2 separate regions of the Homo sapiens genome follow, and region 2 is linked to region 1. Evidence: promoter capture Hi-C in human tissues and cell types (Jung and others, 2019). All regions are on one chromosome and are shown on one strand. The core of a region is centred on a gene start or on the middle of the fragment in contact, and the rest is flanking DNA. Distances in the headings are between cores, read along the strand shown.

Region 1 (5,769 bases), core at 382-2,881:
CCCCAGAGGCCCTGTCAGCTGGAAGCAGCTGGTTTCACATAACAGAGACCCCAGGCCCAGGTCCCCTGGATGCAGGAGGATTTGCGGCTGCCCTTTTGGAAGAGGTAGGCTGACCATGAGAACTGGCCAAAGGTGAGAAGGACGTGGAGAAGGTGTTGGAGGAGGGAAGTCAGACATACTAGCAATAGCCTGGCCTGCAGGGCTGTAGCTTTCACCTGTACTTCCTCCTGTTTGGTGTCATCATCACAATCACGATGGTGATAAAATGTCTTCTTTCCTCTAGGCAGGTGGTAAAGGTACTATTTGGTGCACAGGTTGGAGAGTGCTGTGATAAGAACCATCAGAACAAGGGCAGGAATGTGACCTCCCAGGTGATCCTGGGAGGATCCAGTGGAGCGTTTCAGAATTCTGTGTCAAAAAAGAAGGCTGCGTGTTGACTGGGGTGGGGCTGTGCCTGTGTTTGGGGCCGCCCATGGGTGTAGCAAACCCTTTTTTTTTTTTTGTATTTGTCCTGCCTCCTCTCCTTCAGGGTCTGCTCCTTCCTCCTCGCGGCTCTGGGGGCTGCATCTCGGAATCCTGCCGGCCACTCCTCCGCTGCAGGGGTGGACATGGGAACCAAGTGGGGCCTTTGGGATGTCTTCAGCCCTCCCACAGCCACTGGCCAGCCTGCCTGCTGTCTTCCTGCCCCCCTCGCTCACTCCTCCTTCTCCTGGGCTGAACCACACCCAAAAGCTTGATCCAGGACTGGGCTAGGTGACCGGTGCAATCCTTAGATGCCTCTCTTGGTTCCCACTGCCCTGCTGGTCTTGAGGCAGGTTGAGGGGGGAGTCACAGGCCATCCCTGCAAGGAAAAGCAGAGAGGGCAATTTGGGAAGGTGACAGAGGACCCTGTGGGACGTCGAGTCACAGCCTTGCTGGGCACAGTGACTGGCGTGCATAGTGAGCTGCTTTCCCAAGCACTGCCACCCCTGGCTCTCAGATATGCTGCTGAAAGGGGTGACGGGCAGTGGGGGGCTTGGGACTCCGCCGAGGTGTCCTAGCTCCCATCCCTATCCCCAGGCCCAGGCCCAGGCCCCTCCAGCATGAAAGGCTAGGGACCGCACTGCCATGGGGTTTGCCAGGCCCCTGTCTCTTGGGAAGCCACCCCTCCCAGGGAAAAGCAGGGCTGAGGGCTGTTCAGGCTCTGCCACCACCTGCTCTGTGACTTCGGGCAGGCCACCAATTCTTCTGAAAAACGGGAGTCACTGTGGGCACCATCACGCCCGGGTACAGGACGCCCAGTGGCTCAGCTGCCCCAGCCAGGCTGCCCTGTCCTGGCCTCAGCACACCTCCCACAGCCACTGCAGGCAGCCCTGGACCTTCTCCTGCTGAGGCCTTACTGCCAATCCCTCTGGGAGACCAGACACAACAGGCAGCGGTCTGGGTGACTCCCAGGAACCTGTCCTCCCTAGTGGCTGAGGCAGTAGGCTTGGCAGCAGGGACTCAGTGCCCTAGGAGGCAGGGCTCATCCCACAAGTTGCCATGGTAGCCCCTCCTCCTGCCCCTTACTCATCAGCCAGGCTGTACCGACACGGGCTGCCCAGGCAGGGGGTGGCTCGCTGGACAAAGCTGGCCGTGCAGGCGCTCAGGCGTGCAGGGTAGCCAGTGCCCCGGCCAGGAATGGACAGCCTCCAGGACACAGTGGCCCTGGACCATGGGGGCTGCTGCCCTGCCCTCAGCAGGCTGGTTCCCAGAGGCTTTGGGACTGAGATGTGGACTCTCTTTGCCCTTTCTGGACCCCTGGTAAGGAGGAGGAGCTGGGGGGCAGGTAGGGAGTGGAGGAAGCTGAGAGGCTGAGGGTGTCTGCCTTGCAGGCAGGATCCAGAAATGTGCTCACATTTTCCCCAGAAACTGCCCATGTTGACTGCCAGGTCCAGAGTCTGGGGACAGCAGGATGGCTCCTGAAAGCTGTCTCTGGACAATCCCCAGTGGCAGTGGGGCCTGACTTTGCTCAGCAGCAGGCAGCCCCCACACAGAAGGGGTGGGTGTGCCTCAGCTGGAAACCCACAAAAGCCTGAGTTGGAAGATGGCTCCAGGACAAATGGGACCCAGAGATGCATGAAGCCTGCAGCACCTTCGCAGGGGGAAGAAGGGGCCGGCTACCCATTTCATTTCCAAAGGGGAAATTGTTTTAAATACATTTATTTTTTCTGATCATGAAGAGGAATAGGCTGGGCGTGCTGCCTCACGCCTGTTATCTCAGCACTTTGGGAGGCCGAGCAGGGAGGATCACCTGAGGTCAGGAGTTGGAGACCAGCCCGGCCAACATGGAGAACCCCCCGACTCTACTAAAAATACAAAAATTAACCAGGCATGGTGGCGGGCGCCTGTAATTCCAGCTACTTGGGAGAGAGAGGCAGAGAATCGCTTGAACCCGGGACGGGTAGGTTGCAGTGAGCCGAGATCGCGCCACTGCACTCCAGCCTGGGCAACAAGGGCGAAACTCCGTCTCAAAAAAAAAAAAAAAAACAAAAAAAACAAAACCAAAAAGGAGTAATGGAATTGCACTTCCTGTAAAACTTTTAGAAAAAAATGAAAGATATAAAGAAGAAAGAAATTTAACTCAAATCCTAGTACTTGGAAATAGCCATTACTAAGATTTTGGTGTATTTAATTCCCCTCCTTTTTTGGGGGTGTGCGGCCTGACCAAATTATTGTTATAATAGGAACTGCAATAGCAGTATCAGACACTTGGGTCAAGCTCAGGGCGCCAGGCACTGCGCTGCGCCAGGCACTGACCCTTCTGGGTAGGGACGTGGAGGCCAGGCGTGACTGCAGCTGCAGAACGCAGAATGGGAGCTGGGCTAGGTCATCCGACCTCCAGCCCTGGCTTCCCCAGGCGTAGGTGACCTCTCGGGGCACTGGTGCGGGGCCCTCAAAGCTGGAGAGGCCTGTCTTGCAGGGCTCGGCTGTGTGGGCACCTGTGGCCCCGAGTCTGACCTGGCCGCTGTCCTCCAGTTCCTGTTCCAGGTGCTGACTTTTATGATCTACATCGTGAGCACTGTGTTCTGCGGGCACCTGGGCAAGGTGGAGCTGGCATCGGTGACCCTCGCGGTGGCCGTGAGTACCCAGCTTGGCCCAGAGCAGGGACGTTCTCTCCCCAGGCTTCTCCACCGGGTTCCCGGGTGGGCCCGTCTTGGGTGGCTGGTCAGGGATGGGAAGACACAGCCCACGTGGCTGGACAGCTGCCTTCACAGGTGGAACCTGAGGGCCGGAGATGGAGGCGGTCTGGCCCTGGGGCACACAGCACATGAGGCTGCTGAGCAGAGCCTCTGCCACCGCTGCCTGCTGGGCAGCATTTCCTGACCCTGGCTCAGCCCAGATGCAGGGGCCTCTCTTCAGGCCTCACCTGACAAGCTCTTGTTTCCTCCTGTGTGTGGCGCCAGTTTGTCAATGTCTGCGGAGTTTCTGTAGGAGTTGGTTTGTCTTCGGCATGTGACACCTTGATGTCTCAGGTGGGTGGCCTCCTGGAGCTGGGCAGGAAGCCAGGCAAGGGCAGAGCCAATTCCACAGGTGCCATGGAGATGGCAGGTGGGAGGGGCGCAGCCAGGTGATCTGGGAGCAATGGGCCCTGGGGTCAGCTGCCCCTGCCCTACCTCCAAGGACCACAGGCTGTCAGGGAAACAGACCCTCCCCTTTGAAAGAGTCTGGGCCAGGAGAAAGGGGTGGAGATGGTGGAGACAGTTCTCTGATCTCTTGCCCCCAGAGGAGGTCACCAAGTAGAGAAAGACAACCGGTTCCCCAGCCTCAATCCTAAGTTCGGCTGCCTACATGCAGGCATGTGTCGAAGGCCAAGGGGACACAGAAGGAACCTCCCTGCTTGCAGGGGCCTGCAGTCCAGCAGGGGCTGCCCAGGTGGCCATGGGGTCACAAAGCGGCAAGGCCTCACCTCTCCCTGGGGGTTTTAGCTTCACGGTGGACCTGGGCTTTGTCCTGGCTCCACTTAACCTGCCGCTGACATGTGATGAAGCCCCATGTGCCTTCGTCCTCCTTGGAGCTTTGGAAGAACAGTGGAGACAGTGGTAGGCCCAGGCTCAGGAAGGCCGCTGTGCCATTACAGGCTGCGGGCGCCAGGCTGTGGTCACCAGAGGCCGCCGGGTCCGCCACACACCGCTGGCGCCGCTGACAGCCCGCTCCCCGCGCGGGATTTAGGAATGTCCCGGGCAGTGGAAACGGCTGACGCGGGGCGGGCTGTTTTGCAGAGCTTCGGCAGCCCCAACAAGAAGCACGTGGGCGTGATCCTGCAGCGGGGCGCGCTGGTCCTGCTCCTCTGCTGCCTCCCTTGCTGGGCGCTCTTCCTCAACACCCAGCACATCCTGCTGCTCTTCCGGCAGGACCCGGACGTGTCCAGGTGCGCTGGGCTCCGGCTGGGGAGGTGGGGCTTGCTGGGAAACCCGGGCCGCCGAGGGAAACCCTGAAGATGCCCAGCCCTCACACCCCATGCTTCTCTAGGCCACGAGTGCTCACAGTGCACGGTGCCTGTGGGTACCTTCCAGGCTTTGGTTTGGGGATTCTCCCCATGGCTGCGGCTCCAGCAGTGACCAGCAGGGACAGAGGCGGACAAACGCCCAGTTTTAATTTAGAAGGCAAGGCAAGAAACAATTTGGGATTTGCATTTTATTTGCATTTGTGTGCCCGGACACAGTTGGAGCTTTACAGATGCTTTCGAAGAAATGAAGTGTGTGCATTTTCCCATATTCCGAAAAGGAGAAAGATGACAACCACTTTTTGATGAATTATAGATGATGATGATGATGATGATTATTATTATTATTATTATTATTACTTGAGACAGAGTCTCGCTCTGTCGCCCAGGCTGGAGTGCAGTGGTGCAATCTTGGCTCACTGCAACCTCTGCCTCCCAGGTTCAAGTGATTCTCCTGCTTCAGCCTCCTGAGTAGCTGGGACTACAGGCACGTGCCACCACACCAGGCTAATTTTTGTATTTTTAGTAGAAACGGGGTTTCACCATGTTAGCCAGGATGGTCTTGATCTCCTGACCTCGTGATCCACCTGCCTCAGCCTCCCAAAGTGCTGGGATTACAGGCATGAGCCATCGCACCCGGCCTATAGTTTATTATTAAATTTATTTTATAATAAATCCCTCTCATAGGGATGCCTTGTTCATTTATATTATGTACATTTCATTTGGTTATTCCTTTTTAAGATATAACCTTTTTTTCTTACGAACCACGTTACTCTGAATTTAAGTTCCCTCATCCTGAGGCCTGGGTGTTTGGGTGTTTCGGCTGCCCCTCCTGGCACCTGCTTACCATCTGGAAGCAGCAGCCCCTGATGCTGAGGTTTCACAGTCCTGGCTGAGACCCTGGGACAGCGGCCGAGCACCCAGTCCTGGAGGACACAGGGGAGAGGGCCCTGCCTCCCCGGGCCACAGCCTGGTCAGCTCCGGAGCTTCTCCCTCTCTTGCAGGTTGACCCAGGACTATGTAATGATTTTCATTCCAGGACTTCCGGTAGGTGCCCCTGTTTGCTGAGCGTGGAATCACATTCCCCTAAATTCTGGCTTTTTGCTTTCCCACTCTATCTGCTGCGGAAGATCCCTATCCTGCTGTGACTTCCTGCTGGGCCATGAGGGTGACTGACAAAAGTTCCCGTTGCAGTTGGTGCAAATTGAATTTAAAAAAAATAGTATAACATGTTTTTCTGATTTGAAAATGTTTATTGGAGAAAATACGAAAAGCATGAGGCAGAGAAAATTCAAATCACCTAT
Region 2 (6,260 bases), core at 2,409-4,908, 34 kb after region 1:
TTGAGCCACTCTATGTCTTTTGACTAGAGAGTTTTTAGTTCATTTACATTCGATGTTATTATTGATAAGTTAGGACTCAGTCCTGCCATTTTATTATTTATTTTATGGTTTGGTGGTCTTCTCTTCCTTTCTTCTTGTCTTCCTTTTTGTGAAGGTGATTTTCTCTGGTAGTATACTTTTTATTTTTTGTGTATCTTTTGTAGGTTTTTGATTTGAGGCTACCATGAGGCTTGCAATATTATTTATTTATTTGAGACAGGGTCTCGCTCTTGTAGCCCAGGCTGGAGTGCAATGGTGTGATCTTGGCTCACTGCAACCTCTGCCTCCTGGGTTCAAGCGATTCTCCTGCCTCAGCCTCCTGAGTAGCTGGGACTACAGGTGCTCACCTCCATGCCCGGCTAATTTTTGTATTATTAGTAAAGACAGGGTTTCACCATGTTGGCCAGGCTGGTCTTGAACTCCTGACCTCAGGTGAGGTCTTTTGCTTTTGCCTCCCAAAGTGCTGGGATTACAGACATCAGCCACTGTGCCTGGCCAATAATCCATTATTTTTAAACTAGTGACAACTAAATACTGATTGCAAAAACAAACAAGCAGAGAAAATTAAGAAAAACTTTAACTTCATCCCCTGCTGTTTCTTAACTTTGTTGTTTCTATTTATATCTTACACTATGTCTTGAAAAGTAGTTTATTTATTTATTTATTTATTTAGTATTTATTGATCATTTTTGGGTGTTTCTCAGAGAGGGGGATGTGGCAGGGTCATAGGATAATAGTGGAGAGAAGGCCAGCAGATAAACACCAGAACAAAGGTCTCTGGTTTTCCTAGGCAGAGGTCCCTGCGGCCTTCGGCCCTGTTTGTGTCCCTGGGTACTTGAGATTAGGGAGTGGTGATGACTCTTAATGAGCATGCTGCCTTCAAGCATCTGTTTAACAAAGCACATCTTGCACCGCCCTTAATCCATTTAACCCTCCCAGACGGGGCGGCCAGGCAGAGGCGCTCCTCACCTCCCAGATGGGGCGACTGGGCAGAGGCACTCCTCACTTCCCAGACGGGGCGGCCAGGCAGAGGGGCTCCTCACATCCCAGATGATGGGCGGCCAGGCAGAGACGCTCCTCACTTCCTAGACGTGGTGGCAGCCAGGCAGAGGCGCGCCTCACTTCCCAGATGGGGTGGCCAGGCACAGGGGCTCCTCACATCCCAGACGATGGGCAGCCAAGCAGAGACGCTGCTCACTTCCTAGATGGGGTGGCGGGCGGGCAGAGGCTGTAATCTTAGCACTTTGGGAGGCCAAGGCAGGCAGCTGGGAGATGGAGGTTGTAGCAAGCCGAGATCACGCCACTGCACTCCAGCCTGGGCAACATTGAGCATTGAGTGAGCGAGACTCCGTCTGCAATCCCAGCACCTCAGGAGGCCGAGGCGGGCACTTCACCCGAGGCTAGGAGCTGGAGGCCAGCCCGGTCAACACGGCGAAACCCCATCTCCACCAAAAATACAAAAACCAGTCAGGAGTGGCAGCGCGTGCCTGGAATCCCAGGCACTCGGCAGGCCGGGGCAGGAGAATCACCGGAGCCTGAGGCAGGGAGGTTGCAGTGAACCGAGATCATGGCAGTACAGTCCAGGCTCCGCAAGAGAGGGAGACCGTAGAAAGAGGGAGATGGAGAGCGAGAGCAAGAGCGGGAGGGAGAGGGAGAGGGAGAGGGCGAAAAGTAGTTTTTTTAATAGATGCATGTTTTAGTCTTCTGCTGTTTATTTCAATGATTTCACACTAATCTTTTATCTATTTATTTTTTAACTTTTAATTTTTTTTTTTTTTTTGTAGAAAGAGTCTTGCTATATTGCCCAAGCTGGTCTCTAACTCCTGGCCTCAAGCAGTCCTCCTGCCTTGGCCTCCCAAAGTGCTGGGATTACAGGTGTGAGCCACCATGCCTGGCCCACACTAATCTTTTACATTCTTATCCTTTTACTTCATTTAGGTATAGTTTGTTCTTCTTTACTAGCTTCTTAGGGTAGAATAGTAGGTCATTGATTCGAGACCTTTCTCCCTTTCCAATATAGGCATTTGAAGCTGTACATTTCCCTCTAAGCATTGCCTTAGTTGCATCTAATAAATTTTGATGTTCATCAAAATTTTCAAGTTTGAAATATTTTTAAATTTCTCATGTGATTTATTCTTTGACTTATGGTTTAGAAGTGCATTTAATTTCCAAATATTTGGGGTTTTATTTCTGGCAGGCATCTCTAATTTAATTCTGTTGTGGCCAGAGAACATACTTTGTATGAATTCAGTCTTTCAAAATTTGCCAGGCATGATGGAATGTGCCTGTAGTCCCAGGTACTCAGGAGACTGAGATGAGAGCACTACTTGAGCCTAGGAGTTCAAGACCAGCCAGGGTAACATAGCAAGACTCCATCTCTTAAAAAAGATTGTTTTAAGTTTAGTTTATTGAGATTTGTTTTGTGGCCTACCGCAGGTCTATCCTGGAGAATGCTGCATGTGAGACCCAAGGAATGTCATTGTGTTGGTTAAGTAACTTGCTTAGACTGATTCTGTGACTCCTGTCTCCTCTACAATGTACAGCTGCTGATGTCTCTTGCTCAGTTTTTTCCCCCTTGTTCTTATTTTTTTAAGTCTAGCTTTCTAGTTTAAAATGTTCTTTCTAGGATTAAAAATGTCTGCAGAGCTTAGTGTTCAGCCAATTACTGGTCAGAGACTGTGTTCAACACCTCTGATAGCTAGCAAAGCTTCCATTCTCTGCTGACAGATCCATGTGTGGGCTAGAGACGTATTCAGAGTTCCAGCTGTTTTCAAGTGAGTCCTGGCTTTTACTTTCTTCTGGGTACTACGGGTCTCTTCAGCCCATGTGGACAGGCTCCATTGTCCAGGAACATGTGGGAGGCTTGGTCTCTGCTACACCATATGCACAGCCTCTGGTCAGCTTGGGATATGTAGAGAACTTACCAGTACCTCCCCATTCCCTTGGCTGTTTTACCTCATCAAACTCCCTCTTAAATCCCTGCCTAGTCCACTGGTCGATGGCTTCTCCCAAACAGGCCCACAACCTCAGGCTAGCAAAGCCACTGGCCCTTCCTGCCACTGAAATTGCCACTTTAATTCACAATACTCTAAATCAGAGTTTCTCAACCTCAGCACTACTGGCACTTTAGACCAGATAACTCTTTGTTTGGTGGGGGGAGGGCGGTCCCCTGGGCATTGTAGGATGTTTAGCAGCATCCTTGGTCTCTACCCACTAGATGCTGTAACACTTTCCCCCACCACACCCCCACAGTTGTCACAACAAAAACATCCCAGAATTTGTCATCCCCATTTGAGAAACACTGGTCCAGGGTACATCAATCATAATTTGGGAGAAGTCTTTAGCCAAAAAAGATCATGCCATGACATATAATAACCAGAAATATACATACCATATTACAAAGTTCAAGAGGCATACATCTCCTAACCCCAGTGCATTACCTCTTTGTTCAAATGTGTACAAACCACAAAATACTCCCCACCTCTCACAGGAACAAAATAAAAATAACCAAATATCTATTGGCCAATAATCCTGACCAAGGATGAGCTGTGCCTGTAGTTCAGAAGATCTGGAATCACGTTGGGAAAATGAGACTAATGAAATAAACAGTACTTTTTCCAGAGCAATTCTCATCTTTGAGATGAGACATAATCACAGACAGCAGTGGGTGAGGGCTGCTTGTCTCATATGGAATAAGCTAACAACCACTGTTTGCCATGCATGGTAGGCAAAATAATGGCCCCCAAGTTTCAACGTCCACATCATAATCCCCAGAACCTGTGAGTGTTTCAAGGCAAATGGGACTTTGCAGGTGTGATTAAGAATCTGGAGATAGGGGGATTATCCTGGGTCATCCAAGTGGGCCCAATGTAAATACAAGGGTCCTTAGAAGAGGGAGGCAGGAGAGTCAGAGGAGATGTGAGGCTGGAAGCAGAGGTTAGAGTGATGTGGGGCCACCAGCCAATGAATACAGAAGGAATTCTAGAAGCTAGAAAAAGCAGAGACACATTCTCAACTAGGGCCTTCAGAAGGAACAAGCTCTTGATTTTGGCACAGTGAGACCCAATTCAAACTTCTAACCTCCAGAACTGTAAAATAAAATAATAAATTTGTGTGTGTGTGTGTGTGTGTGTGTGTGTGTGTGTGACCAAGTCTCGCTCTGTCGCCCAGGCTAGAGTGCAGTGGTGCATCCTAGGTTCAAGCAATTCTCGTGCCTTAGCCTCCCAAGTAGCTGGGATTACAGTGCCACCTTGCCTGGCTAATTTTTGTATTTTTAGAGATGGGGTTTCACCATTTTAGCCAGGCTGGTCTTGAACTCCTGACCTCAAGTGATCTGCCCTCCTCAGCCTCCTAAAGTGCTGGGATTACAGGCATGAGCCACCATGCCCGGCCCAAATTTATGTTATTTTAAGCCACAATATTTGCAGTAATTTGCTACAGTAGCCACAGGAAACCAACACACCACCTCTGTATCATGTGAAGTTAGTCCAGTCTCCCAGACCAACTGGTTGCTGGCCACCAATTCTACCTTTACTTTCTAGGGAGGCCATATGGTGTGGCAGTGAAGCCTGAGTACTGTAGGGTTGTGTTCAAAACACAGTTACTTCTGTGTAACATGGACAAGTGATCTGACCTGTCTTGGACAGCCACCCTCAGGGAAGAAAGGGAGATAAGGGCACCCATCCAGTGCTGTGAGAACTCAGTGAAGCAATGCCATGCGAATGGCTTAGCACAGTGCCTGCTGCATGACACCTGCTCTTAGTCTCATCATCCTGACTCTTGCCCATTTCTGTCTCCCCTCCTAGTGTGTCTATGGCGGAGTTCTGAGAGGAACTGGGAAGCAGGCCTTTGGTGCCGCTGTGAATGCCATCACATATTACATCATCGGCCTACCACTGGGCATCCTTCTGACCTTTGTGGTCAGAATGAGAATCATGGGTATGTGGTGTGAGGAAGTCGGGAGAGGCCTGGGTGGTCGTCGGACATTGTTCCCATCATCACTTGTCTCCTCCAGGCCTCTGGCTGGGCATGCTGGCCTGTGTCTTCCTGGCAACTGCTGCCTTTGTTGCTTATACTGCCCGGCTGGACTGGAAGCTTGCTGCAGAGGAGGTAAGTGGGTCAGCTGACCCTGGCCACAAGACACCCTGCACCTGACCCCAGCAGGTGGAGTGACTACTCAGCCAGAAATGCCCAGAGCACATCAGAACTTGGCAGCAGTGTGGTATAAGCTGCAGGTGTTTTTTTTTTTTGTTTGTTTGTTTGTGAGATGGAGTCTCACTCTGTCGCCCAGGCTGGAGTGCAGTGGCGCGATCTCAGCTCACTGCAAGCTCCACTTTCTGGGTACATGCCATTCTCCTGCCTCAGCCTCCCCAGTACCTGGGACTACAGGCACCCGCCACCACGCCCAGCTAATTTTTTGTATTTTTAGTAGAGACGGGGTTTCACCGTGTTAGCCAGGATGGTCTCGATCTCCTGACCTCGTGATCCGCCCACCTTGGCCTCCCAAAGTGCTGGGATTACAGGCGTGCTGCAGGTGTTTTGTGGGGGATTACAGAGGGGCCACCTGAGCCTCAACAGTGGCTCCTGTCACTGTAATTGGCCAGTATAAGAAGCATGCTCTGCAGTTATAAACAGAAACAAAACCAAAAACCTTCCTTAGACAGCCCCATCTGTGGAAAACCAAACAAACGCAAAGAACTCAAACTAGTCTGAACCCAGATGAACCCCCGAGCGTGTGCCTTGACTTTGGAAGGGGTCATAAAATCACCCTGCCCACCATCCTCTTTGATGTCCTTTTTAAACAGGGCAGGGCAGCCTTTGCATCTCAGGCACAGCAAAGGCACAACTCAAGTCTGCAAGCAGAGCACAGAAGCAGTGTTCTCTCAAAGACCCTGAATCCTATCAGGGTGTGGTTTTGCCTTTGTGCACAGAAAAAGTCATCCTGACACTTAAGATGCTGGATAAACAGATATTTAAAATGATACATTTATTTATTTGAGATGGAGTATCGCTCTGTTGCCCAGGATGGAATGCAGTGGTACAATCTCGGCTCAATGCAACCTCTGCCTCCTGGGGTCAAGAGGTTCTCCTGCCTCAGCCTCCTGAGTAGCTGGGACTACAGACATGCGCCACCATGCCCAGCTAATTTTTTAGTATTTTTGGTAGAGACAGGGTTTCACTATATTGCCCAGACTGGCCTTGAATTCCTGAGCTCCAGCAAT

The links. Contacts are between HindIII fragments. The study calls those that stand out against the background at their distance.
Region 2: a fragment that was not itself captured here is called in contact with the fragment with the promoter of SLC47A2 in region 1 in 4 of the 25 tissues and cell types used here (dorsolateral prefrontal cortex, mesendoderm cells, spleen and 1 more).

Annotation. Positions count from the first base shown.
Region 1 is chr17:19,712,446-19,718,214 of GRCh38, reverse strand. SLC47A2 (solute carrier family 47 member 2) reads left to right here and starts at 1,631. Exons shown (of 17, transcript NM_001099646.3): 1 at 1,631-1,782; 2 at 2,998-3,099; 3 at 3,426-3,494; 4 at 4,242-4,390; 5 at 5,470-5,512. The coding sequence starts at 1,660. It overlaps LOC124903948 (a long non-coding RNA gene), which reads right to left and starts at 3,869. Exons shown (of 2, transcript XR_007065659.1): 1 at 2,980-3,869; 2 at 1-841. RefSeq lists enhancers at 456-1,303, 1,304-2,153. The HindIII fragment of the contact is 9,747 bases long and covers 1-5,769 here.
Region 2 is chr17:19,680,255-19,686,514 of GRCh38, reverse strand. It overlaps SLC47A2 (solute carrier family 47 member 2), which reads left to right. Exons shown (of 17, transcript NM_001099646.3): 14 at 4,845-4,977; 15 at 5,054-5,148. Among named protein-coding and RNA genes, the nearest start is that of SLC47A2, 33 kb to the left of the region's middle. RefSeq lists an enhancer at 5,164-5,665. The HindIII fragment of the contact is 5,655 bases long and covers 831-6,260 here.